Regions from separate parts of the Homo sapiens genome. Here all the other regions are linked to region 2. The links are contacts of gene promoters, found by promoter capture Hi-C in human tissues and cell types (Jung and others, 2019). All regions are on one chromosome and are shown on one strand. Each heading gives the region's core, a stretch centred on a gene start or on the middle of the fragment in contact. The rest is flanking DNA. Distances are from core to core; before and after follow the strand shown. Region 1 overlaps USP48 (ubiquitin specific peptidase 48). Region 2 holds the start of LDLRAD2 (low density lipoprotein receptor class A domain containing 2). Region 3 overlaps USP48 (ubiquitin specific peptidase 48).

Region 1 (4,874 bases), core at 721-3,220, 120 kb before region 2:
AATGGGCTGCCCGAATTTGAGCAAAGGGCTAAGAGATGGTCTCCTATTTGGTATAGGCTTCGTTCCCACCTTTCTAGTTTAATTTTTCCAAGTGTGGAAACACATAATTCTGGGTGCCCATCTGAGGTCCAGGTGGAGATGGGGAAGTGACAAGGATGTGAAAGGTAGAGAGTTGTCTAACTGCTTCTTATACAGTTTTCCAAACAAGTATCATGTTATCTTCTTTTTAGGCTCACAATTCATTCCCACCTTCAGAGGTACCTAGGCCTCTAATTTGTGTGTGCCTGTCTGGGGCACTGCAATCTGACTTAGTTTTGCTTCTTGTTGACCTCCTCCACAGGCAGAGCTCACATTTATTTCAGTTTCCTCAGGTTAGCTTTCCAAGTTTTTGTAGATATCTTTCCCTCCTTTCTATGATCTTTTAAGATAATGTATTCTACTGTAACAATATGTGGAAGCTTTTTTCAAGGTTCAAAGTAAAAGCACTGTACACTAAAGCTTCAATATCTAAAATCCCACCTCCGTCTAAAACCTAATCAGCAGATTCCTAAAACAAATTCATCTTTACCTTGCATGACATCATCCATTGCAGCATAATCTGCAATTGGTTCATCAGCCTAGAAAACAAATGAAGACAATTCAAAACCACAAGGGAGAGGGAGTCTGAAATTTGAAGTATGGCCCATGATTCAACTACTGATATTGCTATAAGACACAAACACACTGTCCAGTAGATAACTCAGTTTCAGCCACAGCCAGCAGCGTCCAGGTTTAACAGCAGATGCCCTGCTGGCTATGGGTCTAGAGTCAACACTGCAGAAGTGGTATACTGTGTGTGTGAAGAGGAAAGGCAGGGGGGACTATTTTCCCATTCTTAAAGACACCTTTAGACATGGAAATGTTTAGACACCCTGGGGTTACTAAAGACTGATTAAACCAATGTGAGCTAAGATACTCGTAGTGGCAGTGAGGGGTACAAATAAAAAGTTATACTGGTCCTCTCAGAATACCAATTAGGTTAAAATTATACTTTTGTCCCACTTCACCAGCAAGAACAAGATACCCATTTCCTTTTTAGGAGGAAGCTTATGATGTCTGAGCTTATGATAAGGTTAGCTGCAAGGATAATGAAGCCAATGACCAGTACAGACTCTAGCTGCCCATGTGAAGTACAAACCGTTCAACAATACAGGCTGTTTTAGGACTTTAGACAGGATCATTAGGATCTAGCAACTCAATGTGTTTTCAAAACCATTTCACAGAACCTATACTTCCAGGAAATGCAGAATGTTAAACAGAGGGAGGGGTTAGGTGGTGGGATGAGGGGTGTGTGTGCATGGATGGGGTAGATATGGGTCTGCCTCATCATTCCAGGGCCTAACTTTATCACACCAGAACGGGGGCTCCAAGGTTTGAAAAGCATACATTTCACAGTTCAAAATAAAAAACCTGAACAATGATTCTACCACATGATGTGGTGGTATTCGGCACAGTAGGGATTCTTTTGGCCAAGAAGAAACAAAAGAGGCAATGGGAAGCGACTAAGTTAGGCCCTTAGGGAGGGTAGAATTGGGCAAATGAGGCTGGTTCAATGACTTTTCTTTCTTTCTTTTTGAGACGGAGTCTCCCTCTGTTGCCCAGGCTGGAGTGCAGTGGCGCAATCTCGGCTCACTGCAACTTCCACCTCCCGAGTTCACGCCATTCTCCTGTCTCAGCCTCCCGAGTAGCTGGGATCACAGGTGCCCACCACCACGCTTGGCCAATTTTCTTGTATATTTAGTAGAGATGGGGTTTCACCATGCTGGCCACGCTGGTCTTGAACTCCTGACCTCATGATCCACCCACCTCAACCTCCCAAAGTGTTAGGATTACAGGGGTGAGCCACTGCGCCCAGTGAAAGTAGGGGCTTCTAAGACACTGTCAAAGAAAAGTCACTGAGGCCTGGCGCAGTGGCTCACACCTGTAATCCCAGCACTTTGGGAGGTGAGGCGGGCAGATCACCTGAGGTCAGGAGTTTGAGACCAGCTTGGCCAACACGGTGAAACCCTGTCTCTACTAAAAATACAAAAAATTGGCCGGGTGTGGTGGCACACGCCTGTAATCCCAGATACTCGGGAGGCCGCGGCAGGAGAACTGCTTGAATCTGGGAGGTGGAGGTTGCAGTGAGCCGAGATTGTGCCACTGCACTCCAGCCTGGGCAACACAGCGAGACTCCATCTCAAAAAAAAAAAAAAAAAAAAGAAGAAGCCCCTACTTTCTACATCTACTAAATCCAAAACCAATTTCCATGCCTTGGACAGAATCCCATTAAGTCGTGTATTTTGACTGTTGTGACAGAACCTTGTGTTTTACCCTTGTTTCCTAGCTTGGCTGGCTAGTCCTTTTGAACCAAAAGGAAAAGAGGAGATACTTTAATACTATGACGTATGGTTAAGTAATTCTGCTGAACCGGAAGTTAGGGAAAAAGTTACAGAGGAGGCTGAATCTACTTTTAACTAAGAAAAACTATGAAAATCTCAGCAGAGATAGATTTTAAAGTATAAAATAAGTTACTATTTGCATTGGTCACAAGTCTATCTTCTACCCATTTTTTGCTTTTTTTTTTTGTGGGGGCAGCATTTCAAATTAAGTTGCAGACATCAGTATCATTAGTGTGGTTTTAAGAACAGATCCATCTAGTCCAAAAAAAGGAAAAAAAAAAAAGCGGGGGGCGGGGGGTTGGAGGGCATTGGGGAGGGGACACCACAGAAACTTTGTGACCTGAGACCAGATCACTCAGCTTGCCCCTTTGGAATGACAGTCAATCCTCAGTGCTCAGAGGGCCACAACCCAATATCACTCCCTTCCTCCCAGTCTGAGGGGAATGAAAACTAGATCTGTATCTGGAGAAGAATGGGGGCCCTTGTGACAGAAAATCAAATGGGAAAAATCAGGCGTGGAGCTTAGCAGTTGGGTGAGTGGGATTTATACCACTGCCCTGCCCTACCAGGGAACAGGAAAGTAATGATGTACCCTGATCCCACAAAGGCATAGAAACTGATCTAGGTGATCCAGGAAAGGCCAAGGAAAGCCTTCACTTTCACCTTCTCAGGGTACCAGCAGTTGCTGATGCTGTGGCGTAACATCACCTACTATAACACACAAGAACAAGATAGATGATGTCCTGACCTCCTCTAAGTCTCCTGGGGCTCAGCCAGAGTTGGGCTGAGCTGCAAAAACCCACAGCAGTCATTTATCACTACCCTCTGCTAAAGACCCAAGGCATCCTTTAACCACCATTTCACACAGTTTACACATAGTTATGTAACATGTAAAACCTTGAGTTCTTCAGCTAAGGAGCTGTTTACTTACCTTCAATAAAATGACAGATTCAGGAATGACGCCAAGGGTGCCTAGGGTGGCACAGTCATCACTTAAAATCTTTCCATCAATTGACAAATTCTGGTCAAAAGGAGCAACTGAAAATGCATGCATGATCTGTGCCAATATAAAAGAGAGAAAGTCCGTATAATGCAAAATACTAAGACTTATACCCTATTTAAATAAATTATGCATGGATTCTTAAAAAAAAAAAAAAGGCTTCAGAGTACAAAACCACTATTGTTTACAGTCAGCCTACTTGTTATACTCCTACTGAGGCTATCGTCCCTATATATCCGGGAACATCCTTAAGAGGTCTGGTAGAGTATTAGGAAACAATTACACATATAGATGCGTTTGTTCCTTACCTTACCAGCTTCCCAAGGATGGAGGTGTGGGGAAATAAAATGAATAAAAAGTGGGGCTGGGCTGATGGCTATTCTGAGGCTTGGGCAAGGTCATCACTGTCACCTCATCTTTCCCAGGCCCCATATCCTTTCATCAACAAGTCAAGTCCAAATTCTTTCTTTTTTCTTTTTCTTTTTTTTTTGTTGTTGTTGAGACAGGGTCTCACTCTGTCACCCAGGCTGGAGTGCAGTGGCGCGATCATGGCTCATTGCAGCCTTGAACTCCCAGGCTCAAGGGATCCTCCCACCTAAGGCTTCTGAGTGGCTGAGACTACAGATGTGTGCTACCATGTCTGGCGGATTTTTTATTTTTTATTTTTGTAGACATGAGGTCTTGCTATGTTGCCCAGGCTGGTCTCGAATTCTTAGACTCAAGCAATCCTCCCAGCTTAGCCTCCCGAAGTGCAGAGATTACAGGCATGAGCCACTGCATCTGGCCCAAAATTCTTTCTTAAAACCATCTTTAAATTCTCTCTTTTGTTCTTATTCCTTTAGCAAATGGCCTGGGGTATGTAATTCAGCCTTTGGAACTGTCACATATTCTTAGACTGAGTTTTGTCTCTAGGAAGCAAAATATGAATTTCTGAAGGGTAGGGACCATATGCCCCACCCCAGTTCTGGCCAAGTGTTAAAAATTAAATACAGCCGGGTGCAGTGGCTCTCGCCTGTAATCCCAACACTTTGGGAGGCCGAGGTGGACGGATCACCTCACGTCAGGAGTTCGAGACCAGCCTGACCAACATGGTGAAACCCTGTCTCCACTAAAAATACAAAATTAGCTGAGTATGGTGGCACATGCCTGTAATCTCAGCTACTCGGGAGGCTGAGGCCAGAGAATTGCTTGAACCCAGGAGATGGAGGTTGTGGTGAGCTGAGACCACGCCATTGCACTCCAGCCTATACAACAAGAGCGAAACTCCCATCTCCAAAAAAAAAAAAAAAAAAAAAATTAAATACTTTCCAGATGAGTGTGGTGGCTCATGCTTGTAATACCAGCACTTTGAGAGGCTGAGGCAGGTGGATCACCTGAGGTCAGGAGTTCAAGACCAGCCTGGCCATCATGGCAAAACCCTATCTCTACTAAAAATACAAAAATTTAGCTGGGAA
Region 2 (4,925 bases), core at 669-3,168:
AATCCCATGCAGGTGATGAGTTCTGAAGTTTAAGCTTCAGTGGGCTTCATGATAAATTCATTCTTGCTGAGGGAAGATTTGAGTCTTTTTGGAGTTCCCCAAGGTACAGATTTGGACATCATACACTGTAGGAAATCAAGGTTGCATCAAATGACCGCTCCAGGAGGGAGAGCTGTTAGGGAATAATAGGTCCAGAGGTGTTTGTTTTGGGTTTTTTTTTTTTTTTATTTTATCGCCCAGGTTGGAGTGCAGTGGTGCAATCTCGGCTCACTGCAATCTCCGCCTCCCGGGTTCAAGCGATTATTGTGCCTCAGCCTCTGTGCCACAACGCCCGGCTAATATTTGTATTTATAGTAGAGATGGGGTTTCACCATGCTGGCCAGGCTGCTCTCGAATTCCCAACCTCAGGTGATCGCCTGCCTTGGCCTCCCAACGTGATGGGATTACAGGTGTGAGCCACTGTGCCCGGCCAGGTCCAGAGGTCTTAACCTTCTCATGGATTCCTGGGATTTTGAGGTGGTGTCTCAGGCACTGCCAATTTGGGCTGCTTAGCTCCTCCCCTCCCCCACACTTGAAACATCTGCTTAAATAATAACGATGACATTAATGATCATCATTCAAGCTGAAATACATTGGTTACTTTACTACATGATAGACACTATTCCAAGTACCCCACTTGTATTAAGTTACTTAATTCTTTTTTTTTTTTTTTTTTTGAGATGAAGTCTCACTCTGTTGCTCAAGCTGGAGTGCAGTGGCACAATCTCAGCTCACTGCAACCTCCACCTCCCGGATTCAAGCGATTCTCCTGCCTCAGCCTCCTGAGTAGCTGGGACTACAGGAATGCACCACCATGCCCGGCTAATTTTTTTTGTATTTTTAGTAGAGATGGGGTTTCACTATGTTGGCCAGGCTGGCCTTGAACTCCTGACCTTGTGATCCACCCACCTCTGCCTCCCAAAGTGCTGGGATTACAGGCATGAGCCACCAAGCCAGGCCAAGTTACTTAATTCTTACAATGCAACTATGTGGTTGGAATTAATCATTATCCCATTTTCCAGAGAAGGATGCCAGGGCTTGAAAAGCTTCAGTTTTATAGATAAAGGTTCCTTGTAACATACCTTTTGAAAAAAAATTGTTCTACTAATAACACGTTTTGAAAAAGTCTGAATTAGTCCAGGGTATTTATTTTACACATGGGAAAGTAAAATCCAGAAAAAGGGGTCATTTGTTCAATGCCACACACTTATTCTTTCATTATTTCCTGGGCGCCTGCCTTGTGCCAGTGACTGTGCTATGACATAAGGGTTCAGAGGTAAACAAGATACTCATGGAATATAATTTTAGTGGAGGCCAGTGGACAATATATACAAGAAGAAATGAATAGGCAAAATAATTCCAGACAGTGCTGGGATGATACATTTGAGATGTGATTGAGTGACAAAGAGAGAGAGTGTTAATTTAGTTGGAGAGGTGGTCAGGAGAGTGTGGTCTGTGGAGGTAACATGTGAGCCACAACCTGATGACCTGAAGAAGTCAGCCGTGCACTGCTATGGGGGGACAACACTCCAGACAGAGGGATCTATGAGTGCAAAGGCCCTGAGGCAGGAATGGCTTGTTAGTAATACAGCAGACTCCTGGTCCAGTGCTCCTTCTCTGCCTGCTGCTCTCTAGGCCCTCAGAGAGGCTCCTTTGGTGTCCTGGACCTCCCTCAAGCTCAGTCCCTAAGGGGCCAGCTGATCTAGGAAGGTAGCAGATCTGGCTTCCTGTGGGTCCTCCTCCCAGAAGCCCTATGGCTGAACCGGATCTGAGTTTCCTGGTTCCTGTCTGGCAGAAGGGGAGCAGATCTCCTCCCTGCCTCCTCTCCCCAGGCTCTAGCCCTTGCTCCAAATCTCCATGGCAACCCCTGGACACAGTTCTGAACCAAATGAAGAGGATCTGGAAGGCAAAGCACTAAGATCATAGTGAAGACTTGCCTCCCCCTTCTCCTTGTGTCCCACCAGCCTCCCTGCTGGCCTGACCAGGCCCCATACTCCAGTCTCCCCAGAGACCCCAAGCTGAAGATTCTGTGGGTCTGCCCCATTGCTGGGCACAGCAGAGCCTGGATGGAGGCTTGTTGTCTTCTGCAGTTGCCCCAAAGGTTGCTCTTGCTGGGGGCAGCCGCCCTGACTGCAACTGCTTTGGAGACAGGTAAGTATCAGGGGGCTTGGTTGGGGCACCCAGAAGACTTGGGCCCCCACCATCCTTAGAGACTATGTTTCCCCAGTCAGCACTCATCCTGCTGGGCTGAGACCTTTTGAGCTGGGGGAGGCTGGGAAACTGTGTCTGGTCTTGCTTGGCATCCCCAAATCCAACCCAAAGCCTTCTGGAAGGCTTGGATCTGCCAGTCACCTAGAAGCAGGAGTCTGGGAGTGGGCAGGACAGCCCTCAGGGCCTGCTTTGCAAAACTCTGTAGGCTTCGGATTCAGAGAAGCTGCATTTACACACTCTGCCACTTCTTATGTTTGTACCTTTGAGATCATTGTTTCAACTCTCTGAATTTCTTTGGCAGTAAAATGAAAATAATAGGCCCTTGCCCCTTAAGGGACTATGATTATTGGCATATAAGATGAGATAAGTCATGCAAGGCACTTCATAATACCTGGCACATAAAAGGTGCCAAATTCCCGGCTGGGCGCAGTGGCTCACGCCTGTAATCCCAGCACTCTGTGATGCCGAGGCGGGCGGATCATGAGGTCACGAGATCAAGACCATCCTGGCCAACATGGTGAAACCACATCTCTACTAAAAATACAAAAATTAGCTGGGCATGGTGGCATGTGCCTGTAATCCCAGCTACTTGGGAGGCTGAGGCAGGAGAATCGCTTGAACCAGGGAGTCGGAGGCTGCAGTGAGCCGAGATTGCGCCACTGCACTCCAGCCTGGCAACAGAGAGAGACTCCGTCTCAAAGAAATAAAAAAAAAAAAGGGTGCCCAATTCCCTTACTCTCTAAACTCCATGCCTGCCCTGTGTACCTTCAGGGTAGGCTCTGGCTTTAGCAGAGAAATACCAAATATTGGAAAGTGCTCCCACATCCTGAGCTCTGATGAAGGATTTTTTCCTCAAAGACCCACATCCTGGCTGGTCCTCAAGTACCCACTGGTCCCTATCTTGCACCAGAAAACCCACCTCCTCTTTCCTCTCTGTGCTTACAGAAATCAGGGCTACTTTGAGTACTTGCACATCTTCTCATTTAATCCTCACAACAACCCTGTACCAGTGAGGATGTTTTGGGCTGTAAGTAACAGATAACAAACTAAATGGGGCTTAAATGGTAGGATATTTGCTATTTCAGTTAAGAGTGGTCATAGGTGATTCCAGAGATGGTTAACTCAACGGCTCAACAATGTCACTGTTCCTCTGAAATGCTCTGACCTCATCTTTGCAAAATGGCTGCTGCAGCTCTGGACATCCCATCCTCATCCTCAGTCAGCAGCTTTCAAAAGCAGGAAGAAAAGGGGCTCCTTATCACACAGCTCTCCCCCTCCCCTTTTTTTTTTTTGGTGACGGAGTCTCGCTGTGTTACCCAGGCTGGAGTGCAGTGGCTTGATCTCAGCTCACTGCAACCTCCGCCTCCAGAGTTCACGCGATTCTCATCCTCAGCCTCTCGATTAGTTGGGATTACAGGTGCGCACCACCATGCCCGGCTAATTTTTTGTATTTTAGTAGAGATGGGGTTTCACCATGTTGGCCAGGCTGGTCTCGAACTCCTGACCTCAGGTGATCCACCTGCCTTGGCCTCCAAAGTGCTGGGATTACAGGCGTGAGCCACTGCGCTCGGCCCCGCATCTTAGGGTTTCGAATAAGGGATTGTAGATTTGAATTAAATTAAATTAAATCATTTAATCCTTACAATCATTCTGAGATTGATTAATCATCCCCATTTTACCGATGAGGAAAATGAGGCTCAGAGAGGGCGAGTAACTCGCTTGGGATCACACAGCGGGCAGGGGACAGAGTAGAGTTCGGGGTCGCGCCGCGCGGCTCCAGTTTCCGTGCCTTCCGCTGCAGCCGACCTGGCGGAACTGTGCGGGCAGACGTGGCAGGGGGACGGGCTGCTGCTGCGCTCGCACGCCGCATCGCGCAGGTTCTACTTCGTGGCTCCGGACACCGACTGCGGGCTCTGGGTGCAGGCGGCAGCCCCCGGCGACCGGATCCGCTTCCAGTTCCGCTTCTTCCTGGTCTACAGCCTGACCCCCGCGCCCCCGGCGCTCAACACCTCCTCCCCGGCCCCGGCCGACCCGTGCGCCCCCGGCTCCTACCTGCAGTTCTACGAGGGCCCGCCGGGGGCGCCCCGGCCCCTGGGGTCCCCACTGTGCGGCCTGAACATCCCGGTGCCTGTGGCATCCTCCGGACCCTTTCTAGGCCTGCGCCTGGTCACGAGAGGCCGCCAGCCCCGCGTGGACTTCGTGGGCGAAGTCACCTCTTTCCGTCTGGGTGAGCTGGGGCTGAAGGCCGGGACGGGACCCTCTGCAGAGGCCATGCGGGACTGGGGCCACAGTGGGGGCCCCGGTGAGGGCCGCTGCCGACAGGGGAATGGCAGGGGTGCCCGAAGCACAAGATGGCAGGGACTGGGTCCAACGGGAGGGAAGAAGGTGGTGGCTAGTGGCAGAGTCACAATAAGGGACCTCCCGGATCCTAAGAGCCAACCATATAAATCTGGCTACCATGGATGTGTGCGTCAGACTGTCCTACCAGCCCCAGTGCGCACACACATCCACACACATCCACACACAACTTCCTCCCCACACACATTCACACACAACTCCCACACGTTCACACCTCACACTCTGACATCCACACCCATGTCACATACGCACAACCCACGCACCTCATCGCCCCCACACACTCCACACTCATGCCTCTCACTGCAGCACACGCCTCA
Region 3 (4,725 bases), core at 1,547-4,046, 85 kb before region 2:
ATAGGTTTGGTAGGTGTTGATTCATCCAACCACTTTTGCAGCCATTCCAGAGAGACAAACTCATAGGGCTCTGAGAAAGCAAGCATCGGAAAGAGCCTATGTATTTTTACAGTTTTTTGACTAAGTGATACATTCATTTTTCTCAAAAGACAATGCAAACTCTGTCCAGAGTTAGCAGAATCAGAAGAATCATTGTCTGGGGGAAGATGTTTGATGAGTACGACACAAAGCTCCAGTTAAGTGCCACTCCTATGAGTTCAAGGAGCTGTGCACCATAATGCTGAGTCTGCACAGTGCCCTATGAGATCGGCTGGTATTATTAACCACATTCTACAAGAGGCATCCACATAGAGTCTTGCCGAATAGCACAGCAGAGCTTTGATCAGGACACCCATGTTTGTTGACTACAAGTCATGCTCCATTGCTGCCTCACAAATAACACAACCTCATGCCCTACTGTGTTTATTTCATAAATTATTTTTGTCAGTACTTTTCACATATATGTGATATACATCTGAAAATTAAAATGAGAAGCCAAACTGAAATAAACCTCACCGACTATGACCACACTTCAGAAGACGCTTTTAACCACTGAACTTTCTTCATCCAAGATGATACTGATGGCAATTTTGAAAAGGTATTTAATTCCCCCACCCAAATCCAAGTCATGATCTCTTCATTATATTATTATTTATTTCAAGAAAGTAACCTATTTTAAACAAGTTCGAGGATAAAGTACACTAGAACTGAGTCATCAATTTTGAAGTTGCAAAAATTAAAAGACAAAACCAAACACCTCAAAATGAGTTTTAATTTGGGGAAAGGAAGTCCCTAGAATTCCCTAAAAGCCAAAATCAAAGATAAAGGGCCAGCTTTGATTACTTACAAAGATCTCCAGTGAGTCCCAGCATAAAACATAGAAGAAAACATACAGAGGTTGAATTTATATTTTTGTATTATATACTCCTTCTGATGAGATCTGAGGGACAGATACTTCAACGCAAAGCCCATTGTGACCAGTTTTATACTCCCCAGAGAGTTACATGTCTAGAAAACTAACTCCCATTTTAATTTTACAGTAAACCATCTCAATTTTTATGAAAACAAAATTTGGCACTGTACATCATCAACTAAGAGCCTTCTAACTGGTCAAGTCGAATGTGGCTCCAGAGGAAGAGCACAGGACTGTGAGTCGAGGTCACGGTCTAATCCAAGTTCTGCTACCAAGAAAATGAACCTGAACAAGTCACTTAAACTTTCTATGTTTCCAGTCTTTTATTTGTAAAATGAAGGTAATAATACCTGCCTTCTACCTACCTCATGGGAATGTTGTTGAGTATAAAAGATAAGCTATGTGAAGCATTTTGAGCTTTTTGGAAGAAAAGAGATATGGAAAAGTTAATTATACATTTACGTAAACTTAATATATAAAAGAGGAGACCTTGGCTGGGCATGGTGGCTCACGCCTGTAATCCTAGCACTTTGGGAGGCCGAGGCGGGCAGATCACCTGAGGTCCAGAGTTTGAGACCAGCCTGACCAACAGGGAGAAACCCCGTCTGTACTAAAAATACAAAAAATTAGCTGGGCATGGCGGCACACGACTGTAATACCAGCTATTCGGGAGGCTGAGGCAGGAGAATCACTTGAACCCGGGACGCGGAGGTTGTGGTGAGCTGACATTGCACCAGTGCGCTCTAGCCTGGGCAACAAGAGTGAAATTCCATCTCAAAAAAAAAAAAGAGGAGACTTTAAGATGCAGTATATGTAACACAGCTGCAGCACTTTACAGTATATCATGGTATGGCTAATTACATTCAAAATGCCTCCCGACTTTATTTGCCATTTATCAAGCTTAATCTGCCAGGGATAGAGTACACTGGGTATCTGGGGAATGCAAAGATAAATGATCCCTTTCTGAAAGCAAGATCAAAGTCTTAGCATACTCTCATCTTTTCCCAAGGACAGTCAATTAGATTAAAATGGTAAGCAATATGAAGGCTATCAAAGGAGAAAAAACAGGATTGTGATAAAGAGCAACATTCAAGAATAAGTCACTAGGCATCCTAGTTTCCCCAGCAGCTGGGGAGGAGTGGACAGACAGCAGTATCTGTTATTGCTAACTGAAAGAAAACACCCTAAGAATCCTGGCCCTCACAATGAAAGGAATCTAGGAAAGCTCAAAATGCACAAAGCCCTCCTTGCCAGGGGATGTCTGCAGGAATTCAAAGCCTAGGGTGACTGTGGCCCTGACTGTCCAGCAACAATGTGGCTCAAAGGCAAGACAACATTTTCCAATCTCACAGAAAACTTCCAAGGAAAGCTTGTTGTTTTGGTTTTTGAATTGTTCAATATAAATTTAATGTAAGATACAATGATTAGAAAAACTATGTACGGTTTTATAGTAAGAGGAGGAAGACAGAAAGCAGAGAACAGGCCTATAATTCTAATCTAATACCATGCTTACTACTAACAGCAAGTTCTCCAGATTTCACTTTAGTGCGCTGTGGGCTCCATGAAGGAAGAGTGACTATGGTCACAGAAGTCTGTCTTTCTTTCCATTTTCAGTCTCTATCATCATAAAGAGTTGCACTGACTCTGCCAAGAGCTTGCCTGAGAATACAAGTGGAGCACAAGTCTCATAGTTAAGGCAGATTCTGTTTGTGGCAAAGTTTTTACACTACAGATGTTTCTGCACTAGAAAAAGACTCTAAGTAGGCCCCTCAAATATATTCCCTAGTATTTGTGATTCAGTAAACTACAAGCATTGCTTTCCAAAGGCCATGGACATAATCAACTCCAAATGAGGGAGAACTCTCCTATTATCAAGCTGGAGATACCGGACTATATGAAACCTCAGCATTTGATGAGGAAAGCAAAATATTAAAATATTTACCACAGGGAAATATACATTTTGGTTCAAAGTTCTTTAAAAAGAAAAAAAAAAACCTGGATTTTGAACATGACACATTTTCTTTGGAAAGTTATAAAGTCTAGAACAATCACAGCATCAAAAACATCTGAAACACTTTACCTAGAGATAATTTAAGTATATTTCAATGGAAATAAAAAGGGCCAAAAGCACGTTCCTACTGAGGCTTAGATTTTAGGGTAAGTGATCTTTGTTTTTTTAAATATGTTCACACACAAAAATAAGATTTAGAAAATGCATAACAAAAGACTTCTCTTGCCAGCACAAAACCATGCTCATTAACTTTGAGATTCTACATAATTTTACAGCGTGGACTGTCTACAATATAAGTTTACTGCAAATGGAAAAGAATTATATAGCTCATAATTGGTAAAAGTATAAATAACACAGAGAAATACTCTAAGAACATAAGCATATTCTAAGAACATAAGGTTCCTATATGCTGAATGAAAACAGCCAAAGGAAGCACAGTGCTAACTTGACACATAACATCTTTGAACTCTATAGTTCTAAAGAGTGGTTCAAATGAGTATTTCACTTTAGACCCAGTTAAGTCCCTTTCTCTTGCCCAGTGGACACAGGAAACCGTGAATAAAGTTTGGAAAATAGATTTCTAGGTCCCAACACCTTTGAACAAAGACCTATAAATTTAGAGATCTGAATCATGGGTTCATTTCCAAATCATTTCCAGTTACATTAAGGTCAGTTTAATTATTTAGGGTAATCCCAACCCTTGGACAGAGTTAAAGTAACAGATTACAAAGAAGGGTCAGAATTGAATTAAAATTTAGTTAAAATATATTCTTATAGACTTGGCAATTTTTGTTTACATTTTGCTTAAAGTTATACTAGTAATGGAAAATTAAGATATTAAAAAGACAAACCACAAGTACAATTATGCTTAAGTATTTATTTTCTAAAGTAAGGACTAAATTGTCTCTCTTCCTTAAGTAGGAATTAGGCTTGGGGAATTCATGTCTTTAAAATGACAAAGATAACTTAATACAAATGGCACATCAGCCTTTAAAAAGGCTTAATTTGGTTTCATTTTGAGACATCAGGTAAACCTGAATAAACATATACAGAAAAGGGATAAGCTGGATTATGTGGGATATTTCTAAGAAATCAGGGGTCAGCAGAAAGCTTTTCTACTCTTAGCATAATATTTGGTATTAAACTTCAAGTTAATCTAATAGTATCAAAAAAACTGTATTCATATAATAGAATGTCTGTTAAAACTGTTAGGTCACAAAGTATGCAAAGAAACAGAACAGGCAAGTTGCTTTTTCCATAGTAATCCAATCGGATTTTTCTTAAACAAGTTAATATCTCACAAAATATAAATATCTACAATACTCATGGATGCAGAGTGCTGACCTAAATGTTATAATTTATTAACAGCTTCCCATTTTTAGGAGTACAACGTAATGAAATAATATGGAATGCTACACATCAAGTTATTGTTGGTTTACAAAGTACTTTTAGAGTGTTTAAGCTGGCTTTAGTGGGTTATTAGAAAGAGTAAGTTTGAGAAAGTTTCTTCATATACATTTGTGAACATAAAAAAACAAGGCACTTAATGGCAACAGTGCTGTCCCAGAATATCTTACAGACCAGCTCCAGCAGGTAACCTTTGGTACAGCTCCTTAACCTCTTCGTGTTTTGCTTTTCCTTTATCCACACTTTGCTTACGCATCTCAGCCATTTCAATACACCACTCCTCAAATTTGGAATTATCCCGATCTACCAGCTCTTGAAGAAAGGCTATTCAAAACAGAAAGACAAAAAACAACTT

Evidence for each region. The method cuts DNA at HindIII sites, captures the fragments that hold promoters and counts their contacts. A contact is called where the count stands out against the background at its distance.
Region 1: a fragment that was not itself captured here is called in contact with the fragment with the promoter of LDLRAD2 in region 2 in 2 of the 25 tissues and cell types used here (bladder and pancreas).
Region 3: a fragment that was not itself captured here is called in contact with the fragment with the promoter of LDLRAD2 in region 2 in 2 of the 25 tissues and cell types used here (H1 embryonic stem cells and aorta).

Annotation. Positions count from the first base shown.
Region 1 is chr1:21,686,623-21,691,496 of GRCh38, forward strand. USP48 (ubiquitin specific peptidase 48) reads right to left here. Exons shown (of 27, transcript NM_032236.8): 24 at 3,352-3,477; 25 at 569-617. Among named protein-coding and RNA genes, the nearest start is that of RAP1GAP, 20 kb to the left of the region's middle. The HindIII fragment of the contact is 3,818 bases long and covers 62-3,879 here.
Region 2 is chr1:21,810,347-21,815,271 of GRCh38, forward strand. It overlaps LDLRAD2 (low density lipoprotein receptor class A domain containing 2), which reads left to right and starts at 1,919. Exons shown (of 5, transcript NM_001013693.3): 1 at 1,919-2,190; 2 at 4,052-4,477. The coding sequence starts at 2,106. RefSeq lists silencers at 405-555, 4,284-4,403 and an enhancer at 1,710-2,004. The HindIII fragment of the contact is 35,123 bases long and covers 560-4,925 here.
Region 3 is chr1:21,724,026-21,728,750 of GRCh38, forward strand. It overlaps USP48 (ubiquitin specific peptidase 48), which reads right to left. Exons shown (of 27, transcript NM_032236.8): 11 at 4,545-4,694; 12 at 1-70. Among named protein-coding and RNA genes, the nearest start is that of USP48, 57 kb to the right of the region's middle. The HindIII fragment of the contact is 3,775 bases long and covers 910-4,684 here.